Linked DNA regions of Homo sapiens: regions 1, 2, 4 and 5 are each linked to region 3. Evidence: promoter capture Hi-C in 16 types of primary human blood cells and fetal thymus (Javierre and others, 2016). All regions are on one chromosome and are shown on one strand. Each heading gives the region's core, a stretch centred on a gene start or on the middle of the fragment in contact. The rest is flanking DNA. Distances are from core to core; before and after follow the strand shown. Region 1 overlaps ELL (elongation factor for RNA polymerase II). Region 2 has its middle 2.4 kb from the start of FKBP8. Region 3 holds the start of UPF1 (UPF1 RNA helicase and ATPase). Region 4 holds the start of ELL (elongation factor for RNA polymerase II). Region 5 overlaps ELL (elongation factor for RNA polymerase II).

Region 1 (2,700 bases), core at 121-2,620, 330 kb before region 3:
CAGACACCTGCCACTTGTCATGTTGCAGATGCCAGGAGGAGGAGTGGGAACACGGGGTGGCAGCATGGGTTAGTGTTCTGCAAAGAAACCCAATGACCTTCCTGTTTTTGCTTCTGAGACAACTTAGGGAAGGAGTTTTGGGCCATCAATGCGGAATCCAAAAGCCCCTGTCTTGGGAAACCACGGGGCCACCTGGCCGGGTGTGCCAATGCCCAGCAGAGCTTCGGTTATTAACAGGGCAGGCCAGCGCTCCAGGCAGGCAGCTCGGCACTTCCAGTGGCTGCACACCCACCACACACAGGCACAGGGCTGGGAGGCACTGCTCGGCTCCCTGGGCCCTGCCAGAGTGGCTCCCTATCACTTGCTTATTTTATAAAGTGGCACTTTACAGCTGGTTTAATGTGGTAAAACAGGAACCTGGCTTAAAAAGAAAAGGGAACTCGCACTGTGCCAGGCTGGCACCCAGCGCAGGGACATCCCTGTAAGCATCCGTGGTCTGGAGAGTGTCCAGTGGCACCGCCCGCCCAGCAGTCAGGGCCGCGGGTATCTTTATGGCATCTGGGAGGGAGCACCCCCACCCTGGGGTGATAAGTGGGATGAAAAGAAGGTGACAGAGTTTTTCTGTCTTATTTCTGGAAAAGGCAACTGGCAAAGCTGGAGAACAGCAAGGGAGTGAAGCAGACCCATAGGAGCGAGGGAGCCCCAGCAAGTGGGGGGCACGTCTGGCCAGGCTCTGAGGAACTGAGCTGCCCGTACTGGGAATCCCAGGCAGGATGTGGGCTCTTGGAGGTGATGGAACAGACAGAACAGGCTATTGCAGGACACACGTTCCTCCTCACCCGGCCCCACCACATGTTCATCTAGTAACAGTTCACCAAGTGAGCTGATGTGGCCCCAGACACCCAGAGCTCAGGGTACGTGCAGAGCCACGGCTGCTGAGCACTCAGGGGCTGTGAGGAGATGTCTGAGCAGTGGTGGGAAGGGACGGGACCTGTTACTCTGGCCACCTGGAGCCAGCGGGAGTGGAGAATGGGCTGTTCCCAAGCACCCGCCTAGGGCTCAGAAACACCACCCTTCCTTGGGTCCTGCCGAGCTTCCCTCCTCAGGGAGCCTTCCCTGCTGCAGGCTGGATGAGGGCCCACGGGACTGTCACTCATCACTCCCGTTCAGAATGCACCTGGCTAACTGGAGTCACACGTGGGGGCCTGGCTGCTGCCTGGCCAAGGTTAAGGACACACACTCTGGCCAGACGCTAGGTCTGACCCCACTCCTATCCATGTGGACAACCCGCTCACTCACATCCCCCCGCCTGATCCAAGGGGCTCACTGAAGCACTGACTCCTCGGCATCCAGGGAGGCCTCGCCTGGTGGCTGCAGCGTGCAGAGGATCTGCGGGCTGTCACGGCGGATGCAGGGGTCAACTGTGCTGGCACCTCTGCTAAGCATGCATCACTTCATTTTGGCCTCCTCAGCCACTTGTGCCAACAGGCCAGGGACGGCACAGAGAGGCTGGAGGGGTGAGGCTGAGGAGGAGGGGAGGTGGGCAAAGGGCATCTGTCAGCCATCTACCTAAGGGTGTGCTCACTGACGCACAGAGGCCACTCCTGCTCTGTTTTTCCAAAGCAATCTGTGACTCTCGGGATTACCCACATCTCAAGTCACATCCTGATTGAAATCCATGACGCGTGGCTTGCTTTGCTAAATTTCCCCTACATTTTCTACAGAGCTCAGCATTCTTCAACTCCCATCTGAAATTGCCATGTACATCTCATCCCTGTCACGTTCATCTCTGCCTGGGAGGAAGGGGAAGTGGCTACAGACTCCAGAACCTGCAGCCTGGGTCCGGTCATCAGAGCAGTGATGCTCTCTGTCATTGGTCAGCAGAGGTTAGGCCCACCTGTCAGGCCTCAGAAGAGCCTGGCACCGCCCACAGGGTGGATCAACGGGTTAATAAGTCACAGCAGAAAACCTGAGGCTCGACTTTAAATAAACAGAACTCTCCCAGCTGCATCCCTGCCAAGGCCCGAGAGTGACACTGGCACATGAGCTATATCTCCCCCCACCAACACACCCCATGGGCTGTCATGAGAAACACTGCATATACCAGAACCCATTTACTCTGGGACACTCTCCACGGAGCCCTGCCACCACCTGTCCAGTGGACAGGGCCTGAGGGACACAAAGCCCCCACAGCCCTGAGCACCCGAGGAGCCACCTGGCCTGGGGATGTGTGATGCCTGCGCACAGGAGGCTCTCAGCCCACAGCTCCAGCAGAGGAAAAAACTCTTGCCTTGTGGAGACAACCCAGGCTTTGACTATTCTGGGCTGCCAGGGCTGTGGGAGCAGCAGGTCAAGGTTCAGGACATCTCACCCTCCTGCCATCATGGCCAAACCTCAGGCGACTGAGAACGATGGGCAACTTCTGTGTGCCAGAGGGCAGTGACATACCAGGACATCAGGGGAACACAAGCCACTGTCCCGTAGCCCCCACTCCTCTCCCATCCTCTCCTCCCCTCCCCTCTCCTCTGTGGTGTGCTTTCTTCTGCATCTGCCACAGCTCACCCAACAGCAAATGCAATCCCAACTAGTTAGGCTCTTGTTAGGACTGAAGATAGCTTTTGCTATTCTTCTCTACTCAATTCTTCATCCTAAGGATGCTGTGGCCAGTCACACCCTCCCACGGGCAAGGGCACCCGGCAA
Region 2 (2,700 bases), core at 200-2,699, 290 kb before region 3:
TTTTTGGAGATCACTTCTAAGGTTGGAGTTCCCAGGTTACCTCCTACAGGAAGCCCTCCCAACCTCCCCAAGGCAAGACCAGGTGCCCCCTTTAGCTGTCTTGGCACAATGAAGTTGATGAACGTCCACTTCATAACTAGTTTACTTGGGTTTTTTGTTTGTTTGTTTGTTTTTGTTTTTTGAGAAGAAGTTTCACTCTTGTTGCCCAAGCTGGAGTGCAATGGCGCAATCTCAGCTCACCGCAACCGCTGCCTCCCAGGTTCAAGCGATTCTCCTGCCTCAGCCTTCCAAGTAGCTGGGAGTAGAGGCATGCACCACCATGCCTGGCTAACTTTGTATTTTTAGTAGACACGGGATTTCTTCATGTTGGTCAGGCTGGTCTCAAACTCCCGACCTCACGTGATCCGCCCACCTCGATGTACCAAAGATTACAGGCATGAGCCATCGTGCCTGGCCTTTTTTTTTTTTTTCTTTCTCTTTTTTTTTTGAGACAGAGTCTCTCTCTGTCGCCAGGCTGGAGTGCAGTGGCGCGATCTCGGCTCACTGCAACATCCACCTCCTAAGTTCCAACGATTCTCCTGCTTCAGCCTCCTGAGTAGCTGGGACTACAGGCACCCGCCACCATGCCCAGCTAATTTGTATATTTTTAGTAGAGACAGGGTTTCACCATGTTGGCCAGGATGGTCTGGAACTCCTGACCTCATGATCTGCCTGCCTCGGCTTCCCAAACTAGTTTACTTATATCTCTGCCTTTTTTTTTTTGAGATAGGGTCTTACTTTGAAACCCAGGCTGGAGTGCAGTGGCACGATCTCAGATCACTGCAACCATGTCTATCTCCTGGGCTCACGCAATCCTCCTGCCTCAGCCTCCTGAGTAGCTGGGCCCACAGGTGCACCATCATGTCCAGCTAATTTTTTTTTTTTTTTTTGAGACAGAGTCTCGCTGTGTAGCCCAGGCTAGAGTGCAGTGGCGCAATCTCGGCTCACTGCAAGCTCCGCCTCCCAGGTTCACACCATTCTCCTGCCTCAGCCTCCCAAGTAGCTGGGACTACAGGCGCCTGCCACCATGCCCGACTAATTTTTTGTATTTTTAGTAGAGTCAGCGTTTCATCGTGTTAGCCAGGATAGTCTCGATCTCCTGACCTTGTGATCTGCCCACCTCGGCCTCCCAAAGTGCTGAAATTACAGGCGTGAGCCATCGCGCCCGGCCCAATGTTTATATTTTTTGTAGAGATGGGGTTTCCCCATGTTGCCCAGGCTGGTCTCGAACTCCTGGGCTCAAGCAATCCTCCCACTTTGGCCTCCCAAACTGTTGGGATTATAGGCGTGAGCCACTGCTTTGATTTACCTCTGCCTTGCCCTCTACACTGGCAGAGCCCCAAAGTCTGGGAAGGCTTTGTTCTTTCTCATTGTTATAGCTCTGAGGCTTGCACAGTGCCTGCCACAAAAGGTAGTGGTGGGGTCTCACGGAAATCACTGAGGAAGGAAGGGAGGTTAAAGGTGGTAGCATAGCAGAGCTATGTAAGAAATCACCTGGAGGGCTGGGTGCGGTGGCTTATGCCAGTAATCCCAGCACTTTGGGAGGCCGAGGTGGGTGGATCACCTGAGGTCAGGAAATCTAGACCAGCCTGGCCAACATGGTGAAACCCCGTCTCTACTAAAAATACAAAAATTAGCCGGGTATGGTGGTGCATGCCTGTAATCTCAGATACTGGGGTGGCTGAGGCATGAGGACTGCTTGAACCCCAGGGGTGGAAGTTGCAGTGAGCAAGACCCAGTCTCAAAAACAGCCTTTGGGAGGCTGAGGCAGATGGTTCACCTGAAGTCAAGAGTTCGAGACCAGCCTGGCCAACATGGTGAAACCTGTCTCTGCGAAAAATACAGAAATTAGCCGGGTGCGGTGGCACATGCCTGTAATCCCAGCTACTTGGGAGGTTGAGGCAGGAGAATCGCTTGAACCCGGGAGGCAGATGTTGCAGCGAGCCAAGATCACGTCACCGTACTCCAGCCTGGGCAACCTAAGCCTGGGTAACGTAGTGAGAGCCTGCCTCTACAGAATATTAATTAATTAATTTGGAGACACAGTCTCCCTCTGTCTCCCACGTAGAGTGCAGTGGAACGATCTGGGCTCACTGCAACCTCTGACTCCCAGGTTCAAGCGATTCTCCTGCCTCAGCCTCCTAAGTAGCTGGGATTACAGGCGCCTGCCATGACACATGACTAATTTTTTTTTTGAGACAGAGTCTAGTGAGGCTGGAGTGCAATGGTGTGATCTCGGCTCACTGCAACCTCTGCCTCCCAGGTTGAAGCAATTCTCCTGCCTCAGCCTTCCTAGTAGCTGGGATTACAGGCGCCTGCCACCATGCCTGCCTAATTTTTTGTATTTTTAGTAGAGATGGGGGGGTTCCGCTATGTTGGCCAGGCTGGTCTTGAACTTCTGACCTTGTGATCCACCTGCCTTGGCCTCCCAAAGTGCTGGGATTACAGGCATGAGCCGTCACACCTGGCCTCTACAGAAAATTTAAAAATGTAGTCCCAGCTAAATGGGAGGCTGAGGTGGGAGGGATCCCTTGAACCCAGGAGGTCGAGGCTACAGTGAGTTATGATCAAAGTTCTGCACTGCAGCCTGAGCAACAAGGCAAGACGCTGTTTCTAAAATAATAGTAATAATTATTATTATAAATTAATAAGCTACTAAAA
Region 3 (2,700 bases), core at 80-2,579:
TCAGGAAAGAGCCACCTTGCCCAGGCTTCCTATGCCACCTTAATGGCAACAGAAACCCTAGGCTCAGAGAGGTTAAGTCACTTGTATAATTTCACACAGCTGGTAAGTGGTCAGGTCTAGAGTCCACCACAGACCATGTGCTTCCAGTTGTTTTGCTGTATACGTCCACTAAATAATAATCATAGCAAAAATAGTAATGGTATAATAACAGTGGCAGAGGCATCAGGAACAGCAGCAACCATCATTTCCAAGTGCCAGGCCCAGTACGTAAGACTATCCCCATTCATTTATTTTTACTTATTTTTGAGACAGGGTCTCGCTCTGTCACCCAGGCTGGAGTGCAGTGGTGCAATCTCGGCTTACTGCAGCCTCAACTTCCCAGGGTCAAGCGATCCTCCCACCTCAGCCTCCCTAGTAGCTGGGACTACAGGTGCGAACCACCACGCTTAGCTAATTTTTTTTTTTTTTTTTGAGACAGAGTCTCACTCTGTTGCCCAGGCTGGTGTGCAGTGGCACAATCTTGGCTCACTGCAACCTCCGCCTCCTGGGTTCAAGCGATTCTCCTGCCTCAGCCTCCTGAGTAGCTGGGACTACAGGCTCGTGCCACCACGCCTGGCTAATTTTTTGTATTTTTAGTGGAGACGGGGTTTCACCATGTTAGCCAGGATGGTCTCGATCTCCTGACGTCATGATCCACCCGCCTCGGCCTCCCAAAGTGCTGGGATTACAGGCGTGAGCCACCGCGCTCGGCCTAATTTTTATATTTTTTGTAGAGATGGAGTCTCACTCTGTCTCCCAGGCTGGTCTCGAACTCCTGAGTTCAAGCAGTTCTCCCGCCTCAGCCTCTGAGTGTTGGGATTACAGGTGTGACCACCGCGCCGAGCCCCACTCCCTTTTTAAACCAATGCACAGGGAGCATCTACTATGTGCGAGGCACCCTCCATTTTACAGATGGGGAAACTGAGTTCCAAGCAGCTTTTGCCAGGAGTGGGAGCGCACCGTCCCTGCCCAGTCTCTCCAGTTGGGCGTTCCGAGACCACCTATGTAGGGTATTCGGCTAGCGCTCAATTAAACCGAAACACCGTCGCAGCGACCACAGGTGCAGACCACCAAGTCCACACCGCCAGCCGCCCGGGCGTCCCCAATTAGCAGTTGGGGCGGGACCAAGTCCTCGAGCTGCCGCCGCAGCGGCGGTTGAAAGCCCCACCCCCTGCGCGTGCGCGGTGCGCGTCCCGTCTTCCTGCTGGGCACCAGGCGCCCGCGAAGAGCGCGCGCGCTTCCGCCGGCGTCGGGCTCGCGCACGCGCACGGCGACGGCGGCGGTGGCGGCAGTTCCTGCTCTAGGCTGCGAGCGGCTGGCGGCTTCGAGGGGAGCTGAGGCGCGGAGGGGCTCGGCGGCAGCGGCGGCGGCTCGGCACTGTTACCTCTCGGTCCGGCTGGCGCCGGGGCGCGCGGTTTGGTCCTTTCCGGGCGCGCGGGGGCGACAGCGGCAGCGACCCGAGGCCTGCGGCCTAGGCCTCAGCGCGGCGGCGGGCTCGAGTGCAGCGCGGAACCGGCCCGAGGGCCCTACCCGGAGGCACCATGAGCGTGGAGGCGTACGGGCCCAGCTCGCAGACTCTCACTTTCCTGGACACGGAGGAGGCCGAGCTGCTTGGCGCCGACACACAGGGCTCCGAGTTCGAGTTCACCGACTTTACTCTTCCTAGCCAGACGCAGACGCCCCCCGGCGGCCCCGGCGGCCCGGGCGGTGGCGGCGCGGGAGGCCCGGGCGGCGCGGGCGCGGGCGCTGCGGCGGGACAGCTCGACGCGCAGGTGAGCGGCACATGGCGGTGCCGGAAGCCCGGGCCCGGCCTCGGCGCCTGAGACCTGCCCCGAACTCGCCTCGGGCCCGGCCTGTGTTTGGCCGGAGTCCCCCATCGCGGCCGGGCCTGGGGCGATCTGCCCCGGGTCCCCTACTCTGGCTCGGCCTGAGCTTACCTGCCCCAGGTCCTGCAATCTGCCCGGGCCTGGCCTGATCTGCCCCGGGTCCCCCGCTCCGGCCGCGACCTGGCTGAGTTCCTTCGGCCCCCAACTCCTGGGCCGGGCAGACTTGCCTCGAGTCCTCCACTTCGTTCGGGACCGAGCTAACCTGACCCTGTTCCTTTACGCCAGCTGGGTTTGCTCCCCCTCCTGGGCCCGGGCTGACCTGCCTTGTGTCCCACAATCAGTCTGGCCTGGAGTAACCTGCCCCCTGACTTATCTGAGTTCTTCCATTCCATCCGGGCTAGGGTGACCTGCCCTGGTCCCTCTTTCGCAGGTCTCGGTATTCTGCCTCGAGTTCTCCTACGACCTGGGCCGGGTCTTGCTCAGGCCGGAGCTTGAGTGACTTCCCTCAGTCCCTTTCCGGGAGTATCCAGGGTGACCTGCCCTAATCCTGTCTCTGGCCTGGTCCGGGGGTCCTGCCCGGTCTCCCCATTGGTGGGTCTGGCCGCCTGTCCCACCTCCCATCTGTGGTCGCAGCCATCTGGGCACCCCACCTTTCACAGTCACGGAGCGTAGGTTCGACTTTCCCCATGCATAGGGGCGCTGGCCAGCGGAAGGTTGAGGCAGAGAAGAATTTTTGCCTCCCATGGAGGAGCACATATTGGCTGGCTATTAAGATCATTCAGGAAGCAGGTTGTATTTTGTTTTTTCTTGCATCGCCTGTTGCTGAAACCGACCT
Region 4 (2,700 bases), core at 111-2,610, 310 kb before region 3:
GCACCCCCCCACCCCCACCATCAACAGTATACACAAACACACACACACGCAGGGAGCAGGGCTCTCTGAGCCCGAGACTAGACCCACCCCCACTCCCTTTAGGGCAATGAAGCCCCCAATTTCCAGAAAAGGAGTTACAAGGTTCCTAAACCACTTCCCCTCGGGACCTGACCACTGGTCATCTGCAACTTCTGACCCAGCACAGACGGGGGGAGGGGGGGCCATGACACAAACAGAAATGAAAAAGGCAGGTTTCTGACCACGGCCCCAGATGCGCCCCAAAGTCAGGCCCAAGAGAACATACACAGCAGCCTCCCCTCCCCACCACCAGCCAGGTGGCAGAACCGAAACGCCTCAAACTTCCCCCAGATGGGCCCAAATCGGCCTCTGAGAAGTTCCAGAGTCAGCGGCCAGATGTGGTAGCCAGAGCTTCCTCCTGGGTGGCAGGGATCCCCTACATGTGCCCTGAGGATAACATCACAGCCGCCCCCAACACTTCCACTCTCCAAGGAACCTCTCTCCGGAGAGAGAGGGTCACCTGGGGGTAAGGGGAGCAGAAAGCTGGGACAAGCTGTCAGTTTCTGCCCAAACTCCCCGTCCCAAGAACCAAAGTGGCCCAACCTGAGTGGCTTCATCGGAACGCGTCAAAGCCAGCCCCCAGCTGCAAAGCCTTCCACCCAGACAGAACAGACCCCCACAAGTGCCTCGCTGACCACCCCCTGCCGGGCACCCAGACGATCGCTGCTTCCCAGGAGGACAGACACAGTCACCCCCACCAACGGCGCTGCCCCGGCCCCAGATGGAAAAGCCCCCAGCTTCCCCCTATCACGGTGCCGGGACCGTGCGGCCCACCGCCTCCTCGCCCCGCCGCCAGGTGCGCAAACTGGACCCTGCCCAGGTGCCCAGCAGGCCAGAAAGGCCCCGGACGCCGCCAGGTGCCGACACCGACGCCCCCCGGGCCCGGCGCGCGAGTCTGGGCCCCTCAGCAGCCCCGGGCCACCCGCCTGTATTGCCTCCTAGTGCTGAGAAGGAACGCGGTTCTCAGCGCTCCAGGCCGGACTGGCGCCCACTCCGCGCCCCGCCGGCCCAGGGACCCGCGAGCAGCACCACAGACCTAGCGTCTCCGAGCCCGGACGCCTCAGTGAGGGGAGCGCGAGGCCGGCCCGCGTCCGGACGTTCCCCACTGGCGCGCCGGGCGCCATGCCACTCACCTGTCTGGCGCGGTAGCTCTCGAAGGCCCTCAGGGCACTGTCGGTGAGCTTCACGTGGAACACCGACACCTTGCTGCCGTCGCTAACCCGCCCGCACGACAGCCCGTAGCTCCTATCCTCCTTCAGCGCCGCCATCTTGCGACCATCTCTCCCCCGCGCCCCCTTCCCGGCTCCAGCGCCGCCACGCCGGCCACGCCCCGCCCCGCCGCCCGCTGACGCGCTGCATTATTCATGAGACGCGGCTGGCCACGCCCCCCGAGTCCGACCAAACCAACAGTCGCCGCCACACCGGCAGGCAGCGCACTACATTATTCAGGAGACGCGCCTGGCCACGCCCCATGAGGGCCCCACAAGGCCCACAGTCAACGCCCCAAGTTGTTGCATATTCATAAGGCACTTATGGCCCCGCCTCTTCAGGCCCTAGGGGTGGCCACTTCCGTGAACGAACTCCGCCTCAACACGCGCACCCCTCCAGGCCCCGCCTCCATAGTATTATACATAACCCTGACTCAGCCAGCCAGGCGCGTCAAAGCCCCGCCCCTACAGCCGCTGACGTGATGCATTATTTATGAGATCTCTACAGTCTTCCGTCTTTGGCTTCTGTGGAAAGCCGCAGAGAGGGCGTGGAGGGGCGGAGCCGGCTCGAAACACGTGGGTGGGTAGGCCCCGCCGCGGGCCGGGAGGGTGGGCGTGGCTATGTAAACGGAGCGCGCGCGTTGGACGCTGGGTTGGACACATAAGGCATCCCTTAGGCGGGGTGGATGGGACTTCCACCCAGGGAAGGTGCTGGACCGGTAGGTGGAAGAGGAGCTGGTAAACTTTTTCTTATGAGATGAGTACTTTTAATAGGATAAAATCCTACATCCCCACAGTCCCTGAGCGATGGTGCAGTCCAGCTTCATTTTCCTATTTTAATTTTTTTTTGAGGGGTCTTGCTGTGTTGCCCAGGCTGGAGTGCAATGGCGCCATCATGGCTCACTGCACCCTCGACCTCCTGAACTCAAACTGATCCTCCTTGTCTGGGTCTGCTGAAATGCTAGGATTACAGGAGTGAGCCACCAAGCCCAGACTTCCATTTTCTTTTCTTTTCTTTTTTTTTTTTTTTGAGACGGAGTCTTGCTCATCAGCCCAGACTGGAGAACAGTGGCGCTATCTCGGCTCAATGCAACCATCGTCTCCTGAATTCAAGCGATTCTCCTGTCTCAGCCTCTCGAGTAGCTGGGATTACAGGCGCCCGCCATCATGCCCAGCTAATTTTTGTATTTTAGTAGAGATGGGGTTTCACCATGTTGACCAGGCTGGTCTTGAACTCCTGACCTCAGGTGATCCGCGCGCCTCGCCCTCCCAAAGTGCTAGGATTACAGGCGTGAGCCACCTCCCCCAGTTTTTGTTTGTTTGTTTGTTTTTAGACAGAGTTTCGATTTCCTTGCCCAGGCTGGAGTGCAGTGGTGTGATCTCGGCTCACTGCAACCACCGCCTCCTGGATTCA
Region 5 (2,700 bases), core at 190-2,689, 350 kb before region 3:
GTTTCCAGTCTGGAGAATTAATGAATCAAGCAGCTATAAATACTCATGGACAGGTTTTTCTGTGGACGTGTTTTCATTTCACTTGGTGAACACCCAGGAGCCCGACTGCTGGGTTACAGAGTAGGTGTACATTTAATTTAATATGAAACTGCCAGGCTGGCTCCCAAAGTTGCTGTACCATTTTGTACTGCCGCCGGCAGCGAATGAGAGTTCCTGTTGCTCCCCATCCACGTCAACATTTAGTGCTGTCAGCTTATTTAAAATGTCAGCCATTCTGGTAGGTGTGTGGTGCAGTGACAGCTCGTGGAGGTTCATGTTTGGGTTTCCCTGCTGATTAAGCATGTTGAGCATCTTTTTACAGGCTAATGTGCCATTCTTCTAGCTTCAGTGGTGAAGCTGTACAAATCTTTATCCCATTTTTAAAAATTGGGTCATTTTCTTACTAAGTTTTGAGGTTTTTTTTTTTATATACAAGAGCTTTATCAGATAAATTTTACATTTTACTCCTAGTCCATGGCTTGTCTTTTCATTCCTTTTTTTTTTTTTTTTTTTTTTTTTTTTAAACAGGGTCTCGCCCTGTCACCTAGGCTGAAGTGCAGTGGTGTGATCTCAGCTCACTGCAACCTCCGCCTCCTGGGTTGAAGCAATTCTCCTGCCTCTGCCTCTGCCTCTGCCTCTGCCTCCCAAGTAGCTGGGACTACAGGTGCGTACTACCACACCCAGCTTATTTTTTTGTATTTTTAGTCGAGACGGGTTTTCACCATGTTGGCCAGGCTGATCTCAAACTCCTGACCTCAAGTGATTTCGGCCTCCCAAAATGCTGGGATTACAGGCGTGAGCCACTGCGCCTGGACTGCCTTTCCATTCTCTTAACAGTATCTCTCAAAATACAGAAGTTCTTAATTTTGATGGAGTGGAATTTTTCAATTTTTTTCTTTTATGGGTGGGTCTTGATTTTGTGTCTTAGTTCCTCCCATCTTTTTGGTTTTTGTTGTTGTTGTTGTTGTTGTTGTTGTTGTTGCTGCTGTTGTTTTGAGACAGGGCCTCACTCTGTTGCCCAGGCAGTGGGCAGTGGCACTATCACAGCTCACTGCAGCCACAGTCTCCTGGGCTCAAGAATCCTCCCACCTTATCCCCAAGCAGCTGTGCCACCATGCCCAGCTACGTTGTTTTTTTAACTCTTTTGTAGAGGTGGGGGTCTCCCTGTGTTGCCCAGGCTGGTCTCAAACTCCTGGGCTCAAGCGATCCTCTCACCTCAACTTCTCAAAGTGCTGGGATTATAAGCGTGAGCCATCACACTCCCATCTTTTTTTTAAATAGCTCTATTTTAGGAAAATCCTCCAAACTGCCATTCTTTACCAACTCCCCTCTCCCCTCCCAAACTAGCAGCTCTGGGTAACTCCTGCCTACACCCGTGGCTGCCACAGCCCCCAGTGAAGGGTCTCTCAGATTCCTTTGTCTGCATGCACCCTGGGTCATGACCACAGATGCTCCCTGGATATTCCCCGGATGCCACCGCCCACCTGGCAGTTGCAGTGCAGGGTTTTTGGACACTATCCAGGTCCTTCTTCCAGAAGGCGCTCAGCAGGTGAGCAGAAAGTGGCCTGTGTCTCATGGGAAGCCCCTCAGATGTCTGTCCATTCCTGCGTCATAGCTGGGGGTGGGGGAGCTGCTTGGACTCCCTGTCCGTAGAAATCACAGCCAAATCACACGCAAGGACTCGTGGTACCACAGACGGCCAGCCTCCATCACTAACCCACTCTCATCCTAAACTGCATGGGATCGGGTTCCGGTTGTTACAACTGAGGAAAATGAGGTACTGAGAGAGGACAGGGCTGCCCGAGGTCACAGCAGACCTCATCCCAACCTCACAGGAAAACTGAGCCCTGGGGTCCCCATGAAGATTTCACAACTTATCCAACCTCACATGATCCCAGGGTAGCAGGATATGACAAACATTTACTACACAATTCTTCAAGTTACAGTGCTTCTATGTCCCTGAGCCCTGCTTCATCAGACAGACAGAAGTCTCCCTCCAAGGGAGGGACAAGCACCCTGCCTGCCCTGCCCACCCTGCCTGCACCTCCATGGGTCAATCTCCAGGCATGGCCCAGGCCTGCTTCCAGGACAGTGCATCTCAGAGCCATGCAACCCATGCCTGGCACAAGCCCTCCTGCCAACACCTTAACTTTGCCTTTCCCCCTTATTATTCCACCTTTTGCATCTGCCTTTCTTCAAACAGGGAAAGACGCTGTCGTATGTGGGCACCTGCTGCACAAGTACACTCCATGGGCACCTGGGCCACAGTGTCAGGCCCCTCTGTCCCCTCTAGCGCACTCTGCAGTGTCTGAAACAGAGCAAATCTGCAAGTGCCAGTGTGATGGGCACAGAATCCCGTTTGGCAGCCAGACGCTGTGGTGGCTCACGCCTGTAATCCCAGCACTTTGGGAAGCCGAGGTGGGTGGATCACTTGAAGTCAAGAGTTCGAGACCAGCCTGGCCAACGTGGTGAAACCCCCATCTCTACTAAAAACACAAACTTTGGCCAGGCGTGGTGGCAGGTGCCTGAAATTCCAGCTACCCGGGAGGCTGAGGCAAGAAAATCGCTTGAACCTGGGAGGGGGAGGTTGCAGTGAGCCAAGATCATACCACTGCACTCCAGCCTGGGCAACAGAGTGAGACTCAGTCTCAAGAAAGAAAA

What was found. Contacts are between HindIII fragments. The CHiCAGO score rates a contact against its expected background, and 5 or more counts as called.
Region 1: a contact is called between a fragment that was not itself captured here and the fragment with the promoter of UPF1 in region 3, in 7 of 17 cell types (fetal thymus, total CD4 T cells, naive CD8 T cells and 4 more). The highest score is 6.8, in fetal thymus.
Region 2: a contact is called between a fragment that was not itself captured here and the fragment with the promoter of UPF1 in region 3, in 3 of 17 cell types (non-activated CD4 T cells, naive B cells and total CD4 T cells). The highest score is 6.0, in non-activated CD4 T cells.
Region 4: a contact is called between the fragment with the promoter of ELL here and the fragment with the promoter of UPF1 in region 3, in 11 of 17 cell types (naive CD8 T cells, naive B cells, non-activated CD4 T cells and 8 more). The highest score is 12.9, in naive CD8 T cells.
Region 5: a contact is called between a fragment that was not itself captured here and the fragment with the promoter of UPF1 in region 3, in 4 of 17 cell types (total B cells, naive CD8 T cells, naive CD4 T cells and 1 more). The highest score is 6.9, in total B cells.

Annotation. Positions count from the first base shown.
Region 1 is chr19:18,502,691-18,505,390 of GRCh38, forward strand. The region is part of intron 1 of ELL (elongation factor for RNA polymerase II); the gene reads right to left. Among named protein-coding and RNA genes, the nearest start is that of ELL, 18 kb to the right of the region's middle. RefSeq lists an enhancer at 1,943-1,992. The HindIII fragment of the contact is 9,226 bases long and covers 1-2,700 here.
Region 2 is chr19:18,544,589-18,547,288 of GRCh38, forward strand. No RefSeq gene overlaps it. Among named protein-coding and RNA genes, the nearest start is that of FKBP8, 2.4 kb to the left of the region's middle. The HindIII fragment of the contact is 4,146 bases long and covers 1-2,700 here.
Region 3 is chr19:18,830,630-18,833,329 of GRCh38, forward strand. UPF1 (UPF1 RNA helicase and ATPase) reads left to right here and starts at 1,330. Exons shown (of 24, transcript NM_002911.4): 1 at 1,330-1,811. The coding sequence starts at 1,581. RefSeq lists silencers at 1,134-1,393, 1,514-1,613, 1,764-1,853, 1,864-1,943. The HindIII fragment of the contact is 13,345 bases long and covers 1-2,700 here.
Region 4 is chr19:18,520,710-18,523,409 of GRCh38, forward strand. It overlaps ELL (elongation factor for RNA polymerase II), which reads right to left and starts at 1,361. Exons shown (of 12, transcript NM_006532.4): 1 at 1,212-1,361. The coding sequence starts at 1,346. RefSeq lists silencers at 45-94, 825-1,134 and enhancers at 350-865, 866-1,381, 1,525-1,854. The HindIII fragment of the contact is 8,691 bases long and covers 1-2,700 here.
Region 5 is chr19:18,481,776-18,484,475 of GRCh38, forward strand. All of the region lies in intron 1 of ELL (elongation factor for RNA polymerase II), which reads right to left. Among named protein-coding and RNA genes, the nearest start is that of ELL, 39 kb to the right of the region's middle. RefSeq lists enhancers at 1,843-2,343, 2,344-2,700. The HindIII fragment of the contact is 4,478 bases long and covers 1-2,700 here.